Regions from separate parts of the Homo sapiens genome. Here all the other regions are linked to region 1. The links are contacts of gene promoters, found by promoter capture Hi-C in blood cells and fetal thymus (Javierre and others, 2016). All regions are on one chromosome and are shown on one strand. The core of a region is centred on a gene start or on the middle of the fragment in contact, and the rest is flanking DNA. Distances in the headings are between cores, read along the strand shown.

Region 1 (4,557 bases), core at 931-3,430:
GTTCAAGTGATTCTCCTGCCTCAGCTTCCTGAGTAGCTGGGATTACAGGTGTTTGCCACCATGCCCGGCTAATTTTTGTATTTTTAGTAGAGATAGGGTTTCACCATGTTGGTTAGGCTGGTCTTGAACTCTTGACCTCGTGATCTGCCCACCTCAGCCTCCCAAAGTGCTGAGATTACAGGCGTGACCCACTGCGCCTGCCCGGCCACAAGGAAGTTTTTAAAGGAAAAGAAGAGGCAGTTTCTAAATTGTTTACCAATAATTTACATAAAAAAACAAACTATTAATTGTCTATAGATTGTTCTTCGTATCACAAATTCCAGGAACATGAAGATATGGTTGGGTAGTCAGTCATGAACAAAATGCCTTTAAACAATCGCCTCTGAGCATGAGTGTGGGGGGTGCAACTTATGTCCCATATTCAAGGTCTCTCTGGGCCTGATAAATTTTGCATACCTCACATTGCTCAAATGCTCTGAACTATTTTTCTTTTCTCAACTACAATTTCCTTTTTCTGGTTGCTCATGATTCAACTGGGGGAGCTTTTAAACCGTGGTTCTCAAACTTTAATGTGCATCAGAACTACCCAAAGGGCTTGTTAAATCTGGGTAGCTCAGCCCCAGCCCCAGAGTCTATGAATCAGGTCACTGGAGTACAGTTTCTGTCAAGTTCTCAGGTGATGCTGATGCTGCGGGCTCCAGTGACTACACTTTTAGAGCCAGTTTTAAAATACAAGGACTTGCAGATCCCACGTCCAGACTGACTCATTGGACTTGGGGATGGAAATCTGGCATTCCACCCCTCCCTGCCCCCTCCCCCCAATTTTAATGTGTCCAAGGGTGAGAATCATTGCTCCTCTGTGGACTATGGATGGTTCCCTGAAGTTACTGAGTTTGGGATTTAATAAATATATGCATTCCTCTGGGTCAACTACAGGAATTCTGCGGTATTTAAGGACATTAAATGAGTGACTTAATACTTTATTTAAAAAAATACCACTGCTTTTTGGTTCACACTAATTTTCTTCCTTCTTTTGGAAAGGCATTTCCGTCCATCTCCTGGATATTTTCCAATACCACGATAGAAAGGTTATTAGTACAGCACCCAGAGGTCTTCGGAGCAAAGCTGTTAAAGAAGTGGGGTCCATTTGAGCCCCAACTTTGCCTTCCTTAGGTCCCCTTGGGCTTGTCTAGCCCTAGGAGTTCCAACAAGTAAGCTGGGCATGCTCAGTGGGCAGGGTCGTTTTTTTTTTTTGGGTGGCGGGGGGTTGCAAGTGGGAAGCCTGCTGTTCAGCTGCCGGGGCTCTCCGCCTCCCCCCACCTGTATGAGGCTGGGTCTGGGGAACCTGTGCTCAGCATTCCACCCCCTGGAGCTTGGGCTTGGTCTTCCCTGCGGGTCCCTGCGCTGACATTCAGGCGGGGAGCCAGGAGGCCTGGCGCGCCTCCAGAGCCCGCCGGGGGAGCCGGGCGAGGGTTCTGGGCTCTGACGGCGGGGTCGCAGGGTCGCCCGCCTCCTGGACACGTCTGTAGGCCTAGGGAAGCCTGCCGGCCGGGAGGTACAGAGTAGGAGAAGCCAGATCCCAGGGCGGACAACGAGAAGTCGTCAGGTAAGCCAGCCCCGCCAGCGTGCCGGCGGACGAGTGTCTCCTCTCCCGCAGGCAGATGGCCAGGGCGGCCCGCATGGGCGAGGGCACAGGAAATCGGACACCGCCACCGTCTTCCCCAGCCTGGCCTAGCTCAGGCTTTCCAGTCCGCCAGCCCGCTGGCAAGGCGGGGCGGAGGTCTGGAGTCCGGCATCGCCGAGGCACAAAGCAGGAACTGCAGCCAGGGGCGAGGGCCCTTGCGTGTGGCGCTGCGCGACCCCACCCGGCGGCAGGACCCGCGTCCCCGTCTAGTCACGTTCATTGGGCCACGGAGACCACCTCGCTCGCCGCCCGCTGTTGGCTTTTCCCTCCCACACCCCCGCCAACCCCGGCCCCGGTTCCCGCCCCCACTTCCGCGTTTCCCCGCTGGGCCGGAGGAGCCTGGGCCCGAGGTATCCGGGCAGGAGGTGGCGGCCTCGCCGCCCTGGTCAGGCCTCCGGGAGGGAGCAGGCGCGGGAGCGGGAGGAGGAAGTCGGGAAGAGGGAAGGCGGGGGCGCGGCCCGCCCGGCGCTCGAGTTACACCCGCCCAGCCCGCCTCGAGTGACAGCCCCGCGCGCCTCGCTGGGAGCACCCGGGCCGAGGCTCTGATTCTGGGGGGAGGCCGACTCCACCCTGGCTGGAGGAACTGGGTGCTCCTGCCCGCTGGCCCCTCGCGCGTGAGGATCTATCTCAGGTGTGTGCTTCCTGGGAGACCCCTTCCCCCGCCTCTAGTATTCTAGGGGGGGAGTGGTCCCTTTCTGACCCGGGCGAGTGTTCTGGGACTCCAGTCTTGGCGGTAGGTGGTGGCGGGAAACGGGAAAGATTTAGAATTTCTTCCCACCAGCAGAAGATGGATTCGCTCTTCTCTAGGGTTTCGTTGTTTATGTTTTGGAGGCGGCATTTGTAAAATAGTAAAGTGGCAGGACTTTTGGGGCGAGGGTTGGTACCCCATTGAAAGTTCATGCAAACTTTTAGCTTGTAGATGCGGCTAGTCTGATAAGGATTGTTGCTCCCTTCCGAAGCAAGAGTGAGAACGAGTCTGGAGGAGGGCTGAGGCTTCTTTGAGAAACTCAGCTGCTGGCGTGTGACCGTCCTAGGAGGAAATGGAAGGTGCACACTGATAACTTAAAACAGCCTCCACTCCCTATGTAGTAACTTCTACCAGCAAAAATAGATTTGCAAAGAGTGCTTTGGCAGGAAGGTGTAGCTGGGTGAATGAAGTGCTGCTCTTAGCAGATGGTCTCTAGTCTGGCTTCCACCTTGTGCAGTGGAATATTCACTCCCAGAAGAGTTCCAGAGTAATTTACAAACACAAATTCTTGCAAAGTGTTAGTGACATGGGCAACCCAAATCACACACAACACATTATAAATATCATAGGAGGCAGCTATAGAAATAGCAGCTAGTCAACTTATACTTGTATAAATAGGTGAGGGAAGGAAGTTAGTAAGTGACAGGGAGTCTTTATTGCTAAAACAAAACTGTTAGTATTTTGCATGTGTTCCAAGTTTAAAGAGATGTGAAGTTTCTTTTTGGCGTGTGGACGGTGCTGGCAGCTGTCACACTGGGCCCAGGCACTTCTTCGTAGCTACTGACCACTCTAGTCCCAGTCCTACAGTTCTTGCTGGCTACCACATGACATCTGGATGCCATTGCCCAATGGAGACCGTGTGCAGTCTGGGGAACCTTGTGATGTGGATGTTGAAACCCCCCTCTGTTTCTCACAGGGGCGTTATGTCAAATTACAACACTCCCTTGACTTTTACAAATCAACTCGTGAAATAATACAGCAATATTTTAATGAATAAATGGGTAAATATGGGGTTTTGGGTTTGAGAACCAACAATGGATTCATTGCAACTGTCCATTCTCATAGCTTATAGAGTCACTTTATTTTATAAAGAAATTCTAAACAGCATTAGAGCTCTGCTTCCTTCTTTCTCCCTTGTGATTCATTCAAAGATGCAATGGCTTGGTTCAGGAATTGACAAAAGGGCCACAGTGTTACCAATTGTTAGTGAGTGTTACCACCCCCTTTAGTTTTTTTTGTAACTATTTAATCTCATTGTAGATATTTTAAAAGATTTGATGATTATTGTGCATAACTCATGTTGGCAAACTATTATAACTCTGAACTTATCCTGTTTGGTTGTTTTCTTTCATCTCTAGCGTGTAAGTTCTATGAGAGTAGCAGGGCTTGTTCTGTCTTGCATACTTTCAAAACTCTAATGCCTGGAGTGGTGACTAGCTTGTAATACACCCTCAATAAATGTTTTCTCAATGAGTGACCTCCAATGCCTAGAGGGGTGACTAGCTTGTAATACACCCTCAATAAATGTTTTCTCAATGAGCGACTGAACTGTGGAACAAACTCCAGCTGAGGGTAGTTGTGGAGCGGGGAGCCAAAGACTTTGGCCTTAGGTCATCTTTTAAAACTCAGCCTCAATTGTCTCATTGGCAAAATATGGATAATAAATGCTATGACGTGTGTAAAATTGCTAGCAATGTACCTGGCAAGTAGTAGACTTCAAAAGACTAGCTTCCATCCTATATTTTTCCTTCTTATACTCAAGTAGGAAAATATGGGCAAAGAATGTAGTTAGCTTGAAAATTTGGGCAAAGAATTCTTGCATGTTGTGCATGAATTATCCGTACATTTTTTTCGGTTAGTTGAGTGTGTTGGGATGGGGAGAGGAGAGGCGAGTTAGTGGTAGCTATGGTTATTAGAGAAGGGAAGCAATTTTCAGATCAGTATCTAATTTCTCAGTTTTAGTTTTTGAATGTGATGATGTTTCTGTTTAGGTTTTCCAAAACTTGATTCTTTCTGTTTGTCAACACCTGGACTCATGGGGCTATCCTAAGTGCAGAAACAACACTTCAGAAAGAGGACTAGAAATCAAATATATGAACACTAGTCTTCTTAAATGAAATTTTCT
Region 2 (4,557 bases), core at 1,044-3,543, 750 kb before region 1:
TAGGCTTGTGCTTTCCCACACTCTGTCCCAAAGGAAGTCAATCTCCTTAGAAAGAGTTATGGAACACTTTGCTCTTGTGTCCTGCCGCCTCCTATATGGTATCTCTATATCTGCTCCTCTGAATCCTTGCTCTGGATCTGGGGTGGCGACATCAGTCTGCTTCTTTAAGAGTGACAACTCAGTCTACTAGTGGAACACTGGATGTGGGTAGTAGCCTCTAGTCTTCCCATCTTGGCTTTCACAGGATGGAACCCATCGCCCTATGAGCAAGCTGCAGCAATGACAATGAGAGCCCAGTATTCTTGGCCCGCCACTCCTGGAGTAGATTTCCTGCCCTATATGTAGGAGTTGGATGGACAAAAGAGTCCCTGGACCTCTCTGTTGCTCTTGCCAAGAAAGAGCTTCTGCAATATCAAACTTGGGAGAGTGATTACAAATGCTGGTGGCCTGGCACGCCTGGGAGAAACCCTAGCCCTTGACTGGGTACTGGAGGCAAAGATCTTGGCTATACCCTCTCAGAGTAAAGTTCCAACTTGCTGAGCTGGTAGGGGGAAGCAACATGTGGAAGTTTATAGTACAGTTTTGTAATTTTGAAGATTCCAATTTCTCCTTCCCCAAAATAGACCTCCTTCTCTTTTTCAGCTTAGGTAGACTCTTTGAGATCCTCCAAGTTTGGAGACAGGGATAAACAAATATTGAAGTAAACTAAAAATAACTCTCTCTACTGGAATGAAGAGTTTGAAGAAACAACCCACTTTTATTTGTCTCTTAAACATTTTCAGGTTGAGAGAAATTAAAGACTTAAATAAATGGAAAAGTGTATCAGGTTCATGAACTGGGTGACTCAATATTAAAACATCATTTTTTTCCTTAAATTGATGTCTAGATCTAATGCAATCCAAACTAAAATACCAGAAGACTTTTTTGTAGTATTTATTAAGTTGAATCTAAAATTAAATAGAAATGCAAATAACCTAGAAAAGCCAAAAGCAATTTTGAAAGATAACAATGTTGGAGCACTTATACTATAAAGCTACAGTAATCAAAACAGTGTGTTTTTTGTTAAGACACACATATGTGTCAATGGAACAAATTAGAGTCTAGAAAAAAACCACAATTATGACACTTTTGACAAAAACGTAGGCAATTCCATGGAGAAAAAGTAGTTTTTTCAACAAATAGCCTTAGAACAGCTGGATATGCATATGAACTTCAATTCTTAATTCACACAACAAACAAAATTTAGCATGAAATAGAACATAGACCTAAAAATTAAAATTATAAATATAAAATTTCTAGAAGAGAACACAGTAGGAAATCTTTGCACACTTGGACTACGCAATGATTTACTAGGCAAGCCACAAAAAGCTGAGTCCATAAAAGGAAAATATTGATACATTTTACTTTATCAAAATTTATCTAAGAATCTTTCAGCTCTTAAATAAATGGAAAGGGAAGCCAAAAACTGGGAAAAAATATTCACAATGCATAAACTGATGAAAAGCTTATATTCAGAATATAAAAAGCATGTTTACATATCAGTTACAAGAAGACAACTCAATTAAAATTGGGAAAATGATTTTATTTTTCACAAAGGATGGTACACAAATGAATGATGAATACAAGAAACAGTGTTCAACGTCATTAGCAATCAGGAAAATTCACATTAAAACTGCAGTGAGATTCTACTATAAAATCACTAGAAGAGCTAAAATTAGGACTGAAAATATCAATTGCTGATCAAAATATATAGTAACTGGAACTTTCATACATTTCTGGTAGAAATGTAAATTTATGCACTTTGGAATAGACTGGCAGTCTTTCATAAAGACACATACACACTTACCAAATAAAGTTTGTGTTTAAATTAAAATAATAGTCAAACCAAATAAAAACAGTAATCCAAAGCACTACATACCAAATTTTAAAACAGATTTGATAGATTCATATTAAGTGGATTTGATATAGTCATATTTGACATAAACAAATTCAAAATACAGAATTTTAATAGGACTTGCTATTGCTTAGTGAGTCGACATCACATAACTCTAATACTCTAATCTCTGAGGAATAATTTTTAAAATCACTGTTTCCTGGTGACATTATTTCTAAGCCTTTATACATTTATGACCTTGTCATTATTCCTATTAAATTTTGGGGATTATATTGATTTTTAGTTTTTTTGGTAAAAGTGTTATTTTAGATTTCATTTATTTTCAAAACTTCCAACTAAAGTTCCTTAAACTTTTTTTGGATCACATGCAGCTATAAAATATTATCAGTTTCCAGAAAAATACAACAAATTGCAAGTACACTATGTTTAAGATGTAATTTTAGAAGGCCACTGGTCCCCTAAAGCACCTCTATTTATCTCCTAGAGAACCATGAACTATAAAATAATGATCTATGATTCAAATACAATTTTGAAATGTTGAAAATATGAAAGACAGGTAAACACAGTTTCAAGATTTTCTTCAGCATACAATGCTTATATAAGTATCATAGATCTAATTTAATGAAATACTAAACAAAGCATCTTATCACATAGCATTAAGCAGTTCCTAAGGAGCCACAGTACACATTACTCTTAGAAGAAATCTTGGATGGTGACTGGAAGGACCACATCTAAAATCAATGGACTTTAGTTGAAATTCTGATCTACAACTGTAGGCTCAATTCCCCTATCTGGGATTCGTGAATAGTTAACTATACCAATCTCTTTATTTGGTGTTAGAAGTATGTGAAATAATATAAAGTTACTTAGTATAATAATGGCACATATAAAACATTTAGTACATGTTAACAATACTTATTAGCACATACTATGAATGTTCTCATTGGTGATGTGAATATATACTCCAAAGCACCAAATTCCTGTTTAAATCCTACAAAGAATCTTCCAAAGACACCAAGTTTTCATAATTTCAGTGTTCTTTCTAAGTCGTTGCTTTTCACTATTACTTTTACATTTATGTAACAAAGGAATACTATTTTTATTCTGTTCTGTAGTGTTTGATATTGCACACATTTTTTTCCTTACATTATTGTCGGACAAGAGAACTCTGATTATGCACTGTTCACACAAAGCTTCCTTGTGTAATATTAAGATAGATCATTTGCCAAAAGAATAACCTCACCAAGAGGCCAAAGCATGGGACAACAAAAAAGTCTTTATGTAGTGATTGGTTCACAGGCATCCTGTGCCTTGAGGCGTGATTCAAATTTCCTCACTGAATTATATCTGTACATCTCTCACGCATATCCACATCCCTCACAAATCAACTTCCCTAGCTTCCAGAATTCATTAGGGATCTTATCCTCTCTCTAAAATAACTACAACTCTAATGCGTTCCCTGTTTATTTTCAACATAGAGCAAAGAGGAGCTGAATATTTAAGACCTTAGTTGTTAGACATGTTCGTAATAAAAGATTAAAGAAAAATAGAACAGAAAATTTGGATACAGAATACATCAGGCTTTTTTGGTTTAACTAAAGTCACTCAAGTTGTAAATTTAAGTGATTGAAGTTCTAAATAGAATAATAATTAAGATTTTTCAAAATGCAGAACTAGAAAAGAGAAACCTGGAAATTATTCCATCAAAGCTTTAACCTATAAAGCTTTAATTATATTCAGGATTTGAGGTTAGAATGATGAAGAATGCCTCCTTCTTAAATTAGGTTGAAGGTTTAAATCAAACTCAACAATTTCAGCAGTGCCCCAATAGATCTTAATGTCACATAGCTTTTTGCTCTTCATGTTCTTTTCTTTATTATTGCATTGCCTCATTAACTCTCTTCTGTCCAAAAATAATAGACCGGAGTAGGAGGGCTAGTGATTATTGAAAACCTAGGGGTGTTCAGTATCAATACCCAAAACTTAGTATACATCTTCTTAACTTCAAAGGAATATCATACTCATATACAGAAAAATTAAGAGCTTTTATATATAACTCCTTGTACCTCCAATTAAAAATGTGTGTAGTTTATACCACTTTAGGTTTTGTTGTTTATAAGCCAATTACTGGAAAAATTATCAAATTATAACCTAGCCACTATAAATAAGTCTGATCCATCCAAATAAACATGCAATATGAGTATATAAATGGATGGTTGGTATTGGTTCCTCATTTCTAGAACAGTTGTGTTTTGCATCAGAGCAATGAACTCTGCTTTCGTTTTCCTAGTTTTGCTAGTCATGTCTGCGTGTTCCCATTCTCTTAACTTCCTTATTCAAATACTTACCAACTATTGTCAATTGTACATTTTAAATATCTCCAGATATGCACACTTTCCTCTGTTCTTTCAGGGTCTTACTATTTCTTGTTGTTTGGATTATAGCAACATCTTCCAAATTGATGTTCTTTCTGCATGACTTGGTTCCCTTCTATCTATTCCCAAGATCAGAAGAATCTTTCTAAATGCAGAGATGATCAAGTCACCTCTGTTCTTCATACTTTAATGGTGGCATTAAAATGGAATTGTTAATTTCTACTTTCTGTATACTTTTATTTTTTGTACCGATGCACTCTAGCCTCAAAAAAGCAAAAATATACCAAT
Region 3 (4,557 bases), core at 1,504-4,003, 740 kb after region 1:
GGACCCAGTGGGAGATAATTGAATCATGGTGGTGGTTTCCCCTATACTGTTCTCATGGTAGATGAATCAGTCTCTTGAGATCTGATGGTTAGATAAGGGAAAATCCATTTTGCTTGGCTCTCATTCTCTTTCTTTGCCTGCTGCCATCCATGTAAGATGTGACTTGCTCCTCCTTGCCTTCCACCATGATTGTGATGTCTCCCCAGCCATGTGGAACTGTAAGTCCATTAAACATTTTTCCTGTAAAAATTACCGAGTTTTGGATATGTCTTTATCTGCAGCATGAAAACAGACTAATACAGTTACTTATAGTCAAAATCTTTCTAAATGATAGATTGTAGTGTTCATATACTATATGATTAATAAATACTTGTAGAATTTAAAATTATTCAATATATTGGTTCATTCTATTAACTCTGTCTATAGGAAACCAAAGCACTCAGATCCCATGGCTATGGCCCAGCTACTACTATTTTCCTTGTGGTCAGATATAGCCCATAGTATCTAAAGAGAGCCTAAACAGCCTCTGCAAAATTATCCTACTAATTTCAACCTTAGCCAGCGAAGGAATATTTCCCACAATTTAAATCAATATGCCAGCATTGTGGCTGTATCTTCTTGTCCTTGGAGGCAAAAATATTTATTTCTGTCAATTAGTAAGTTCCATGAGGTGAGAAATCACCTTTTAAAATATTTTCCAAATGCAATTAATACTTTCGGTCTCCCAAAAGTATTTGAGAACAGAAACCAGATAAATTTTCTTAATCACATGCCAAAGAAAAAAAATCAAACCAGAAATTGTATTAATTATTATCTTTTAGTTTAATCATGATTCTCAGCCCTGGTAGAACAGAATTATCTGCACAACTTTTAAAGAATATCTCTACTTCATCTGCACCCCCAGAAGTTCATTTTTCGTTGGTTTAGACTGGAACTTAGAGATAATTAGTTGACTAAAGTTTTCAGGTGATTTTAATTACAGCCCAGATTATAACACAGTAGTTGAAGCTGTGTAAGAAGAAACCTCAAAGCTAAATTGTTCTTTTTGCTTTAGGTAAACCGTCAGTGTGTTTCCATGTAAGTATAACACATTTCTACTTTTTGTATATATTTTCAAAAGCCTCAAATAGTTCTTGGCATTACAGGATCACTTGCAAACAATTAGCTATAGCATCAAAGATATTGAATGGCTACTCAAACATCAAAGATTTTTTTTTCCATATTTGAAAGCATATGAAAAAAATCTAGAGCAAATTTCATGAAGATGTTTTCCTGTCTACAACTCTGAGTCATTAAAAGAAATGCTTTGGGCCAGGTGCAGTGACTCACGCCTATAATCCCAGCAGTTTCGAAGGCCAAGGTCGGAGTATCACTTTAGGCCATGAGTTCAAGACCAGCCTGGGCAACATAGTGAGATCCTGTCTCTAATAAAAATAAAAAGATTAGCCAGACATTGTGGTGCATGCCTATAGTCCTAGCTACTCGAAGGGCTAATGTGGGAAGATCCCTTCACCAGGAGTTTGACTATATCAGGTGCTTATTAAAAGTAAAATTTCTGGGCAGATCTCTGATCTAAGAAATCAGAACCTCTGGTATAAAGCTCAAGAATGACAGTTCAAACAAGACTGCAGATGATTCTAACATATACCAATGAACTCTAAACTTTGAGAATCACAAAAATTCCATCCAGTCAGATGCCCTATTCAAAAAATTCTTGAATTTTTTTCTTTTTTTTCTTTACGTACTCCCTTTTGACCCATTAAGAGTCATATCTGAGCCGGACGCGGTGGCTCACGCCTGTAATCCCAGCACTTTGGGAGGCTGAGGAGGGCGGATCACGAGGTCAAGAGATCGAGACCATTCTGGCCAACATGATGAAACCCCATCTCTACTAAAAATACAAAAATTAGCTGGGCATGGTGGTGTGCACCTGTAGTCCCAGCTACTTGGGAGGCTGAGGCAGGAGAATGGACTGAACCCGGGAGGAGGTGAAGCTTGCAGTGAGCCGAGATCGCGCCACTGCACTCCAGCCTGTGTGACAGAGCAAGACTCCGTCCAAAAAAAAAAAAAATCATATCTAGCAAAAACAAACAAACAAATAAACAACAAAAACAACGCTTACTCTTCCCATAATCTTTGATGTTAATTTGCCAGAGGGTTGAATTATTAGGTTTGTGCAAAAGTAATTGTGGTTTTTGACATGATTTTCAATGGCAAAAACTGCAATCACTTTTGCACCAACTTAATATCTATTCTTTGTAATAACCTCTTCCAGAATAGCTAAAAGGCCAGGCTCCTCTGAGCCATCCTTGAGTCAACTTAAGATGCAGACACCTTTTTCTAATTGGTGTTGCCAGCAGGGGGCACTTGTTTTGAATCTGACCCCTTGGGAAAAAGCAATTTCCCTCATTTAACCACATTTACTATATTGTGACAGTATTGCACAAATACTTTTGAATTAGTTCCTCAGGAAGGCAGTCAATGCAGAAAAAGACAAACATTCAGACCTTAAAGGTCTACATTTGCTTCTTTGAAATGTGTAATGTACACATGGGCTTTCAAAGGCATTAAAAATTTTCAAAGTCCCTACTATGATAAAATATATTCTTCCAAAATAATCACTACCATTGACACTCTTCAATTTATAAAGCACTAGTTAAAGCATTTCACAACTCCCAAGAAGTAGATGTGCATTTTAAATTGGTGACATGACTTGCCCTGAATCACGTAGCCTGTATGTAGCAGAGATGGAGATCTGTAGGTAGCCATAGGAGCTCTCCACTCAAAAGTAAGTATTTTCTCTCTAACCTCTTGTCCAGCTGCCAAGAGATTCATTGTTTCCACTATAAGAGCGTGTCCATCCCTCCCCTCAGTACCATCAGTACTGTATAAATGACTTTATGGTTTTCTCAAAAGTAAGAGTATTAATTACAACTCTCTGTCATTCAAACAAGTGGAGATTTATCACATTTTACCAAAAAGCACTTTTTAAAACAAAAATGTTTCTTGTATAGCAAAGATAAGGGCTCATCTTTGGACCCCACAAACCGCTGATATCCCCTTAAAGGCTCACTTTTCTCTTTCATTCTTGCCCCATCACCAGAGACCAGGTTTTGACTCCCAGTATCAGGAATTCTACCTCATATAATTGTGCAGTTGAGCTGTTGCACTCCACGTAAGACTTCAGCCAAGAAGACAACAGGGTAGCTGGAAGGCCAGACTTCTCTCAGCCATCCTGGAGTCAACTTAAGATGCAGACACCTTTTTCTAATTGGCATTGTCAGTGGGGGGCACTTTTTTCAAATCTGTCCCCTTGGGGAAAGCTATTTCTCTCATATGCATCAAAGCACTGTATATGCCTGTTGGCCCTACCTATATGTATCTCAGGATTAAATAAATAAATAAATAAATAAAAGCTATTGCCTTGTTTTTCCAGGAATAGTTCTGTAGTTTTTGCAGAACAAGAAGTCTGCATTCAAAGTAACATGCAGTTTCACTGTTATTGCCCTGTCCAAGCTTGTGGTGTAATTTCTTCTTCATTCACTCAGTCTCACAAAAGGGATAATGAAATCAACTTTCATCCAACTTCAGGCAATCATAAAACTCTGAGATTTACAGCTACCACTGCAAAGTCAGTGAGTATTGTAAGAGCCTTGAATTAGAACAAGTAGTAAAGAATCCATGTAAGAATAGGAAGCTCTGAGGTTGTATATACTAAGACCTTAGTGTTACCTAGACTCACCTCACAGCTTGTGGAAAAAGCTGATTCCTGGTCCTACCATAGATACTCTGACTTGGATCTGAGGAGGGCCAGCTTCATCTTGAGAATTCTATGTAGGGTAGGGCTTAGGGGAGGCCATCTGGTTGGAAGACGAAGCTGGGAGGTTTGCCATGAGGCTATGTTTGTAAAGAAAGCACACTCTTTTTAACTTAGTGTGTATGTTACAGATCAATATCAATATAAAAGTTTCCTAAACTTTTACTCACACTTTATATAAAAGTGATTACATTGGCCATATTAAAAGTAAGATTTTTATTTGGGAATGAAGGGAGCTGATGGAGACTGGGTTGGCTACTGCCCTTGGCACCACCACTGAGTTTAACCCAGATGTCTGCCTTTTTAACCATCACCATAGAAAAGCCTAGTTTATTTATTCATCCACTCAACAAAATGTTTATTGAGATACCAGTATGTGCTGGACATTGTTAGAGATATGTTCTTGGGACACAGTAATAAAAATAATGAATAATAATAACAACAAGCTCTGGGTACAGTGGCTCATGCCTGTAATCCCAGCATTTTGGGACGCCGAGGCGAGTAGATTGCTGGAGCTCAGTAGTTCCAGACCAGCCTGGGCAACATGGCAAAACCCTGTCTCTATTGAAAAAATACAAAAATTAGCTGGAGTGGTAGCATGCACCTGTAATTCCAACTACTCGTGAGGCAGAGGTGGAAGGATCGCTAGAGCCTGGGAGGCAGAGGTTGCAGTGAGCCGAGATAGCTCTCCTGCACTCCTGCTTAGGTGACAGAGCAAGACCCTGTCTCAAAAAATAAAT
Region 4 (4,557 bases), core at 800-3,299, 720 kb after region 1:
GAAATTGAGAGATATGTATAGGAAGAGCAAGCAGTTGAAGTTACCTCTAGAACTGTACATAATGTACATAAGAGATGAAGCCATAGTTTGGAGTTAGACCACAGGATTTAGATTTTATGCTTAGGAAATAGTGAGTCATTGCATGGCTGTGAACAAAAAAGTGATATCACCATAGCTATGTTTAAGAAAAATTACTCTGGCAAGAATTTATTGGAAAAGTAAGTTAAATAACTAAATGAGGAAAATCCATTGAAGACAGGAAAGCCTAAGTGAAGTCATGCAGGTAGAGTCAGTGGAGGTAAGGTCGAAATAAAGGGGATAGTTGCAAAGAAACATTAATGCAAAAGACTTGATAGGATTTGGGTATATAAGAAAAGAATGTCATAGCTGGAAACGATTTTGGAAATTATGTATTCCAATCAGCTCATTTGTTAGATAAATTGAAACTCAAAGCAATTAAATGAATTGTTCAATGGTTCTGGAAGCAGTTAACTATGAGGCTAAAACCAATACTAAGTTCTATGAGTTTCCAGTTCATTTTTCCCTCTCTACTAAATTGGAATACAGAATGAGGGAGAAGAAGGGCAGAAATGCCTGGAGTTTTAAACCCAGAGTAGTGTAGTGACATCAAACAAAATAGAGAACCCAAACTCTCAGACATATTCAGTTATAATTCTAATGGGACTACATAATGAAAATTTGTGACTGAACGTCAGAATTCAGGATAAAATTACGGATGAAAGTCATATTTATAGTTGTTATTTGAAAACTATACAAAAGAAGGGCAAAGAAGAAAGAGCAGGAAAGACATTAAGGGAAAAGGAGTGAAAAGAGATGAGAAAGTACATCAATCTGGTACATGTTATTTAAGGGACTGGAAGCAAACCAGAAACTAGAGAAAGGTATCAAAACATCAATGGCATGGAAGTGGCAATCAAATACTAGATGTAGTCTCTCAGAAATGCTGTTGAAAGGTTTTGTGCATTGGGAGAAAGGTTAAAGTATCTGACATCTGAGTTCTTTCTGATTTAGGGACTATGATCAATTATTGCAGCAAAATGTGAAGTGAATTTGATTGAATCTGACTTCAACACTGTATTTTATTATATATCTGTACTATTAACTAATGAATTCAGAAATGTAGCTTGTATAAGTAGGCACAGATATGAAAGCTTACTAGGACTACGAGTTCCTTTGGCACTGTTTTACATCATGGGAGTAGGGGCCACGTATAAAAACAATACACACATACACACATGTGTATCCTTATGTTCCCTTTAATTACTGTGTACATAGTTTGCTGCATTATAGTGGCCAGCATATATATACATATATAATCTTCATAGTTGATTTGTGACATTTTTCTCTGATGTGCTACAACCATTTGGAAATATGCTCTCTGAAGAATGAATATGTGAGTTTTTAGTGTGCATACAATTTTTCACTGCTTATGAAAGAATCAAGTGTATAAACTACGCATAATAAATGTAAATAATTGACAGACTCTGCCAGTATAATCTGAGTTTGTAAGCAACGAGACGTCAAAGGCCACTTGAACATTATTTCCTTATACAGCAACCAAAATATGAGGCACCATTATAAGTTAAGGCATTAACATAAGTAGAATGCAAAAAAGAAAATGAATTAAGCTCCCTCCTTACCCACAGCCTTAGTATATTTTATTTTAACTTTTCCCAAAGTTGTTTTTCCATGTGTCACTTCAACCTTTTCAGTATGTTCAGGCCAAATGTGTTCCTTCCCTGAGCTCCCAGTTGACCTTTAGATATCACATTATATAGTATGTAGTTTATACAACCTGAAGGAACCCCAATTCTCACCAAATTGTAGGTACACTTAAGGTCACATTATAAGAAGCAAACCTATTGCTTTGAAAGCACCTCTTACTTTCCCAACACAAAACCCCTGCTGCCTTCTCTTTACAGATCTTCTTACTCTCCTCTAGAATGTCCTTGGAAATGTCTATGGGGAAGATTCTCCAACAGGTGCTCCTACAATAGGTTGATTGTAAACCTGCTCAGACAGACAGCCTTTTTGTTTAACGTCTTTTCAGCAGCAGTCTCCCTTGTCACTCCACTCAATGTCATGGTCTTCCTGTTCTGCTTGGATCACTGCCCGTTACTGCCTAAGGGCAGTCCATCATGCCACCAAGATTCCTTGGGCTATTTCCTGCACCATCAATGCCATTGCATTCCAGGACGAGCCCTGCTTTCCCTCTGCCTCTCATCTCTAAGCCACCAAATAATATTTTTACTGCCTACTGGGTCTCCTGGGCTTCCTGCTCATCTGCAAATAGCAATGCACAATAGATATAAATGTGCTCAGCTCCTCTAGAAAAGCCCTGCAGTTCTTCATCCTAAGGATATTAATAGTAGCTACACTTACTGAAAACCAAATACATGTCTGAAACTTGTATAAGTGCTTTAGACATACAGTTGGCCCTCTGCCTCCATTCCGCATATACGGGTTTGGCCAACAGTAGGTTGAAAATACTTGAAAAAATATTTTAAACAGTAAAAAAGTATGATAATAAAAGGCAATACAAATTTAAAAACCAATATAGTATAATAACTACACAGCATTTACATTATATTAGGTATTATAAGTAATCTAGAGATTATTTAATGTATACAGGAGGATGTATTTAGGTTATATACAAATACTACGCCATTTTATATAAACAACTTGAGCACCTGTGGATTTTTGGTATCCAGGGAGGGAGGTCCTGAATATTTTGGTATCTGGGAACAATCTCCACCAGATACCAAGGAGTGACTCTACAGACTCATTTTAATCTTTATGAAAACTCTCTAATATAGGTGCTATTTTTCACATAGAAATAACTTACCAGAGGATACTCAGCTACTAAATGGCAGAGGCCCCATTTGAACCCAGGCAGTCTGGCTCTGAAGCTTGTACTCATAACCACTATACTACCCAGCAAGTGTTTGAACCATCAAGGTCTCCTAAGAGCCATATGTTCTTCTCCTCTAATTCCCAGGCTCTGCTGCTGACTCTGAAATTTCTGGCCAGCCATCAGTTTCCCTCTAAGGGATATTTTCTCTAGATATTTTCCTAGGTAGTTTCAGTCAAATCTCTACAATTTAATTATTCATCCTAATTCAAATAAATTGACATGAATGTCTTAATCTGTGATGAGATCAAAATTCAAGATCATTTTCAAGTAATTTCTAGCCACATAAAACTTAGGGGATACAATTAGATGTGAAAAAAAGGTTGCTTTACTCACAGATGGTGCCTATCCCAACTGGTTCTCTGGCTCAGCAGGAATCTTCTCCCACTTGTTGACTGCTATGACTCCCTAGATTGGCTACGAGACCTATGAGGTTTAACTTTATCTTCTCTGTTCTTATAGCAGTGTGTAGTATCCAGCAAGTATTCAGTACAATTTCAATGGATGAATTTAAATAAATTGATTAAATCTTTCAATTACAACAAGAGAGGAAAATGTCAAATAAATCTACAGTCAGTTCAAGGCCTATAAGTATGTGTTAAATATTTATTAGCAAATGTGTAAATATTTACTATAATACCAATAATGCATGGGTTTGCCCTATTGGCTTTGAGACTTTTCTAAGCATATGTAAAATAAAACATCACTATCATAAAACAGTTGAATTAACAATGGAATAAGAATTCAAAATGAGTGGGTGTATGAGGAAAACACCAATACTACATTATTATTAATATTGTTTTATAATTACATTATTATATGACAAAATCAGTTCTGGTAACAAGTTTGAGTTTTTTAGAACTTTAAATATTTACAATTCAACTATAATTGTCACTCTGTTACAAATGGCAAAATGCCAATATACAAAGGAATATCTTAGGATACGATATTAGGAGAAGTACTCAAAAGTAGTTGTTGATCACACGCCCTCCAAGGAAAACACTCTCCAGGGATGTCCTGATGCCTAAATTTGAAGACAATCAATAGATATGTATAGAAAGTGCATATGACATAGGCCTTCTCCAATAAAACAGGGGAGAATACAAGCTGCTTGAAGACAGACCCCAGCTATAGAAATCTCTGCTGTATTTATTTCCCATTATGTCCTTCCATTGTGATTACCTAATGTTATTTGTTACTTGGTGCATCTTTTCTATTGCTGCAGCAACAAATGACCACAAACTATAGCTTGAAACCTCACAAATTTATTATCCTACAATTCTGCAAGTTAGAAGTCTGGTATAGGTCTCATCAGGTATTGGCCAGCTATGCTCCTTTCCTAGAATAGAGGTTGCCAGCATAGAGAAAATTTCATATTCCTTGCTGCCTGAAAACTGAGGGTCATTCTCAAGATCTAGAGGGAAGCATATACTTTGGCTAATGGCCACCTTCCACCATCTTGAAACCAACAGTAAGTGAGTCCTTCTCAGGTCACATACCTCTGACCCACTCTTCTGCCTCCTTCTTCTACTTTTAAAAACTCATTGAGCCCAACTGGATAATTTAAAATAATTTCCTTATCTAAAGGTCTGTAACCCGAGTCACAGCTGCAAAGACCCTTTTTT
Region 5 (4,557 bases), core at 1,240-3,739, 630 kb after region 1:
CGACTCATATTGCTTTTTTAAAAAATGGGACTCCAAATAATGCTTGTTTGTTTGTTTTTGGTATACTGAGGAGAGAGCATTCTGGGGAAAAAATAGAAAAAGGAAGAAAAATTATTTTAAAACCACAACCGTAGAATTAATATCAGAGATTTCACTAAGGCCATATAGTTAATTTTGATCATTTTGAACCAGCTTTGTATCCAGTTTCATTTCCCCTTTCTCCTACAAAAGGTGTGATATTGAGGGAGTGTCTTGAATCATGAGAATCTCTGAATCTAAATGTTAACAAGTGATATTAATAAACTTAATTTTATTGTCACCTAAAATTCAAAAAGTCACACATTTCATTTTATTATTATCTAAAGATAATGCTACAGAAATAATCATAAAAAAACAATAAATTGACAGTTAAATCCATAAATTAGTTACAACTGATTTTTCACAAGCTTTCCACTTCCACTCAGCTATCAGCACCAAGAAAAAGGCTGATTTATTCTCTGTATGCTTCATAATGAGCGCATGGACTGAATGAACTGAGTGTTCTATTTATTCCTGGTTACAAACTGGCAAGGTTGCCATTGGACCAAGAAAAATGTTTCTAGTGTTATTATTAATGTCTGTTAAGAACCCAGAGTCTGGATTGTGCCCATAAAATTTATAATACAAAACTTATAGTCTGTCAAACACTGAAAGTCAAAAACTAAAAACAGGAAACGAACTAAATGTAAAAACGTAGGTGGACTAAGAATAAGCATTAACTACTCGCTAGAAAGATTTTTTTTCTTATTTAAAAAAATATTTTTGTTCTAATAGGGCCATCTTAAGGTTCAAAATCAACTAATTAAAATGATTTGTACAGAAAATGCTTATACTCACAATTTCTGATTTTGCTGCACGTGGAAGCGGGTGATAACCAATGAAGTGACTAAATAAGTTTAAAAGTTATTTAGATCACAACTTTGACCCATTCTGCTCATCAGATTTGTCTTTAACAGAGCCTCCAGGCGGCAAACATGACCTATATACACTTTATTCTTTTCTCTCTTGCTAAGCAGTCGAAAAAATCCCAGGGAGATAGCTCAAAGTTAAACTCAAGATGGAGAAGAAATATTGTAATATGTATTGTGGCTGAGGAAAAAAAAGTTTAAAAAACATTTTCAATATTATCTTTGCACAATCATCTATTTAACAAACATTGAGTACCTTCCACTCCTAGGCACTGGGGATGTAAAAATGAGGCCATTGTTTGTCATCTAGGAGAGAGGTTTCAGTCCCATAGTAGTGGCCCATTACTGAGCTGTGAAATCAATACAATAGGTTGTGACCACCATTTTTTTTTTCAAAAACAGATCAGAGTAGAAAATATTAAAGCATGCCACTCATAATAAGGGAATATATTATTTCTCGGAGCTGTGTTTCAGTCTGTATCTGTGTAAATGTGAGCACGTGTGTGTGTGTTCCAGATCACAATGTAAAAATGCATTTTAATGATAGCTGCATTAAAAAAGTTTGAAAGCGTCTGTTAAAGAGTCTACCAGACATGAGAATCGCTTGAACCAGGGAGCCGGAGGTTGCAGTAAGCAGAAATCACGCCACTGCACTCCAGCCTGGGGGACAGAGCAAGACTCCATTCCCCTCACCCCAAAAAAATAGTCTGCCAGAGAAGTAGACAATTAAATATAGAATTAAAACAAAATGTGACAGGTGTTTTTTTTAGAGATGTGGAAAAGTAACCCTAAAATCTAAAGAGAAAGAGTGGCTACCTCTGCCAGGAGTGGAAATGACCACCGAGGGACAGTCTTGATATTCAAACTAGGACCAAAATGATGAAATTTGAGATAGAGAGGGAGACTTGACAGGACATTCCAGGCAGAAGGAACCAATTGTGTGGGGAGTTCTGAAAGGGAGCACTGTGTTTACACAGGGGTGAGAATGTGGGGGTGGGGAGGATAAGATTTATGGGGGCAATGCGAGGGGAATGGCATGTGATAAAGACAGAGAAGTGCATATGCAACAAGCTTGTCACTGAGGAGAAGAATGACAATGATGGGCATAGTTTGCTTTGCTTTGTTTTCTTATTTTTGAGAAAGTAACATTGTCACCAAGACTGCCTGGAAGAGAAAGAGAGACAAGTGAGAAGATTCTTGCCATCATTCAGGCTAATGTTGATGATAATTGAGCATAGTAAAGGTGGAGAGGAGGAGATGCCACATTTGGAAAGCAATTCTAACAGAATCCACATGATTTCAAGTCTAATTATGCATATATTCTGAGTTATCAATGATTCAAGTGGTCCTATTATTGCAAGACTACAAAGACAACAGCATCAGAAGGTAAGAGAGACGTCTATTTTTCCCCTTTGATAATATCATTTTATTTTCAATAATGAGCAATTGCATACCTTTTTTAAACCTTCATTTTTAATCTGCTAAATGGAGATGCATGTAATACAATTTAAAAGCCTTCAATAAAAGTTTCTTTTTAACTTTGTACTCTTTTGAACAGACTATGTTTTATCATTACATAATTCTGCATTATAAAACCACATGGTTGCTGGTGCCATCCACCAGCAACTGTAATTCAAATGTTTCACTTCTTAAACCAAAGGCATTAATATGATTAGCCCAAAGATATCAGAGAAATAACATACTAATCATTTTTATTTAAAGATGAATTTAATGAAATACATTGAATTAAGGTTTTATATAGCACAAACTAGGTAAGGGAGAAAATAAGCCATGTTGGTCATATCATCAAAATAATAGGAAAGTTCTGTTTCTCTTCTAACCTTGTTCATACCCAGACACATAAGCCTGTAAACATTATCTCCTTATCCTGCCATAATAAGAAGGCATCCTTATGACACATTTCAAACTTTCTATCTGGGCATCACAGAATCATTTGCTCCCCAAAGAAAGGCATCCACTTCACAGGAAAATGCAAATAAAAGCAAGTCAACTCAAGCTTTGGGGATTCCCTAGAGTGCAAGGCTTGTGGCCCAAACACCTGTTTAGTTGCCTTGACAAAAACCACATGATTATCTCAATCGATGCAGGAAAGGCCTCCAATAAAGTTCAACACCCCTTTGTGCTAAAAACTCTCAATAAACTAGGTACTGATGGAACGAATCTAAAAATAATAAGAGCTATTTATGACAAACCCACAGCCAATATCATACTGAATGGGCAAAAGCTGCAAGCATTCCATCTGAAAACTGGCACAAGACAAGGATGCCCTCTCTCACCACTCCTATTCAACATAGTATTGGAAGTTCTGGCCACGGAAATCAGGCAAGAGAAAGAAATAAAGTGTATTCAAATAGGAAGTCAAATTGTCTCTGTTTGCAGATGACATGATTATATATTTAGAAAACCCCATCTTCTCAGCTCAAAATCTCCTTAAGCTGATAAGCAACTTCAGCAAAGTCTCAGGATACAAAATCAATGTGCAAAAATCACAAGCATTCCTATACACCAATAATAGAGAAACAGACAGCCAAATCATGAGTAAACTCCCATTCACAAGTGCCACAAAGAGAATAAAATACCTAGGAATCCAACTTACAAGGGATGTGAAGGACCTCTTCAAGGAGAACTACAAACCACTGCTCAAGGAAATAAGAGAGGACACAAACAAATGGGAAAACATTCCATGCTCATGGATAGGAAAAATCAATATTGTGAAAATGGCCATACTGCCCAAAGTAATTTATAGATTCAGTGCTGTCTCCATCAAGCTACCATGGACGTTTCTTAGAATTAGAAAAAAAACACCTTCCATATGAAAGTATAAATAACCACTCTTAGCTGTTTTTCTTAGGATTGTAAAAATTCACATTAAGATAACTTCCAAGTTATTTTTTAATTGAGTACATTATGGCCAAATTATGCCACATGTGTTATGCCAGATGTGTAATGCCATGTAAATGGAACAATGTGGGGATTCCCTATTTCTCTGTAGTAAGAGCCAGTCAAGGAATGTGGTTTGGAGAAGTCAAAGAGTGCTGACTAAGAATTTGAAGACTTGGATTCTAGGTTTTGTTCTTTCTCCAGCTGACAGGTGTATGACTGTTCATTCTTCCTTACAGTTTGTTCACTCTAAGGGTGGTGGGGGGGGGGTAGATTAGATGGATGGTAAGATTTCTTCTAGCTCCAAAATTCACTAATTTTGTGAACAGCTTATAAAATGAGAGAGAAGGGAAAGTGCCTTCAGCCCCCTATCCTGGTGATTGGGTCCATATGAATTGGAAATAAAACAGACAAATCATGAAGAATGTGAGTTTGGGCACTACCCACAGAGATCACAGGTGGAGAGGAAAGACAATGATAGTTATTAGGCTTGAAAACAATTTGTAAATGCCTCTAAAAATAGTGAATTGTGTCCTGTTCTCTGTAAAATGCCTTCTCTTGTTCACCACAAAGTGAAAATTTTATAGTTTCACATGACTAGCCTAAGAATTATTAATAGTACTTATTTGTTCACTATTCTGCATGTAGGTGGGGAATAAGAAACAAAATAAAGACTTGTTCTCTCATGTTTTCCATATCTAGGATATTT

Evidence for each region. The method cuts DNA at HindIII sites, captures the fragments that hold promoters and counts their contacts. A CHiCAGO score of 5 or more calls a contact.
Region 2: a fragment that was not itself captured here is called in contact with the fragment with the promoter of GPD2 in region 1 in 4 of 17 cell types (M1 macrophages, M0 macrophages, monocytes and 1 more); the score reaches 8.7 in M1 macrophages.
Region 3: a contact is called between a fragment that was not itself captured here and the fragment with the promoter of GPD2 in region 1, in 2 of 17 cell types (endothelial precursors and monocytes). The highest score is 8.0, in endothelial precursors.
Region 4: a contact is called between a fragment that was not itself captured here and the fragment with the promoter of GPD2 in region 1, in 1 of 17 cell types (endothelial precursors). The highest score is 5.1, in endothelial precursors.
Region 5: a contact is called between a fragment that was not itself captured here and the fragment with the promoter of GPD2 in region 1, in 1 of 17 cell types (endothelial precursors). The highest score is 6.1, in endothelial precursors.

What each region holds. Positions count from the first base shown.
Region 1 is chr2:156,434,199-156,438,755 of GRCh38, forward strand. It overlaps GPD2 (glycerol-3-phosphate dehydrogenase 2), which reads left to right and starts at 2,181. Exons shown (of 17, transcript NM_000408.5): 1 at 2,181-2,315. RefSeq lists silencers at 1,283-1,452, 1,893-2,302 and an enhancer at 1,693-1,742. The HindIII fragment of the contact is 5,965 bases long and covers 1-4,557 here.
Region 2 is chr2:155,686,832-155,691,388 of GRCh38, forward strand. No RefSeq gene overlaps it. Among named protein-coding and RNA genes, the nearest start is that of LINC01876, 570 kb to the right of the region's middle. The HindIII fragment of the contact is 1,583 bases long and covers 1,503-3,085 here.
Region 3 is chr2:157,176,706-157,181,262 of GRCh38, forward strand. No RefSeq gene overlaps it. Among named protein-coding and RNA genes, the nearest start is that of GALNT5, 79 kb to the right of the region's middle. The HindIII fragment of the contact is 1,522 bases long and covers 1,993-3,514 here.
Region 4 is chr2:157,158,180-157,162,736 of GRCh38, forward strand. No RefSeq gene overlaps it. Among named protein-coding and RNA genes, the nearest start is that of GALNT5, 97 kb to the right of the region's middle. The HindIII fragment of the contact is 1,758 bases long and covers 1,171-2,928 here.
Region 5 is chr2:157,059,040-157,063,596 of GRCh38, forward strand. No RefSeq gene overlaps it. Among named protein-coding and RNA genes, the nearest start is that of GALNT5, 200 kb to the right of the region's middle. The HindIII fragment of the contact is 946 bases long and covers 2,017-2,962 here.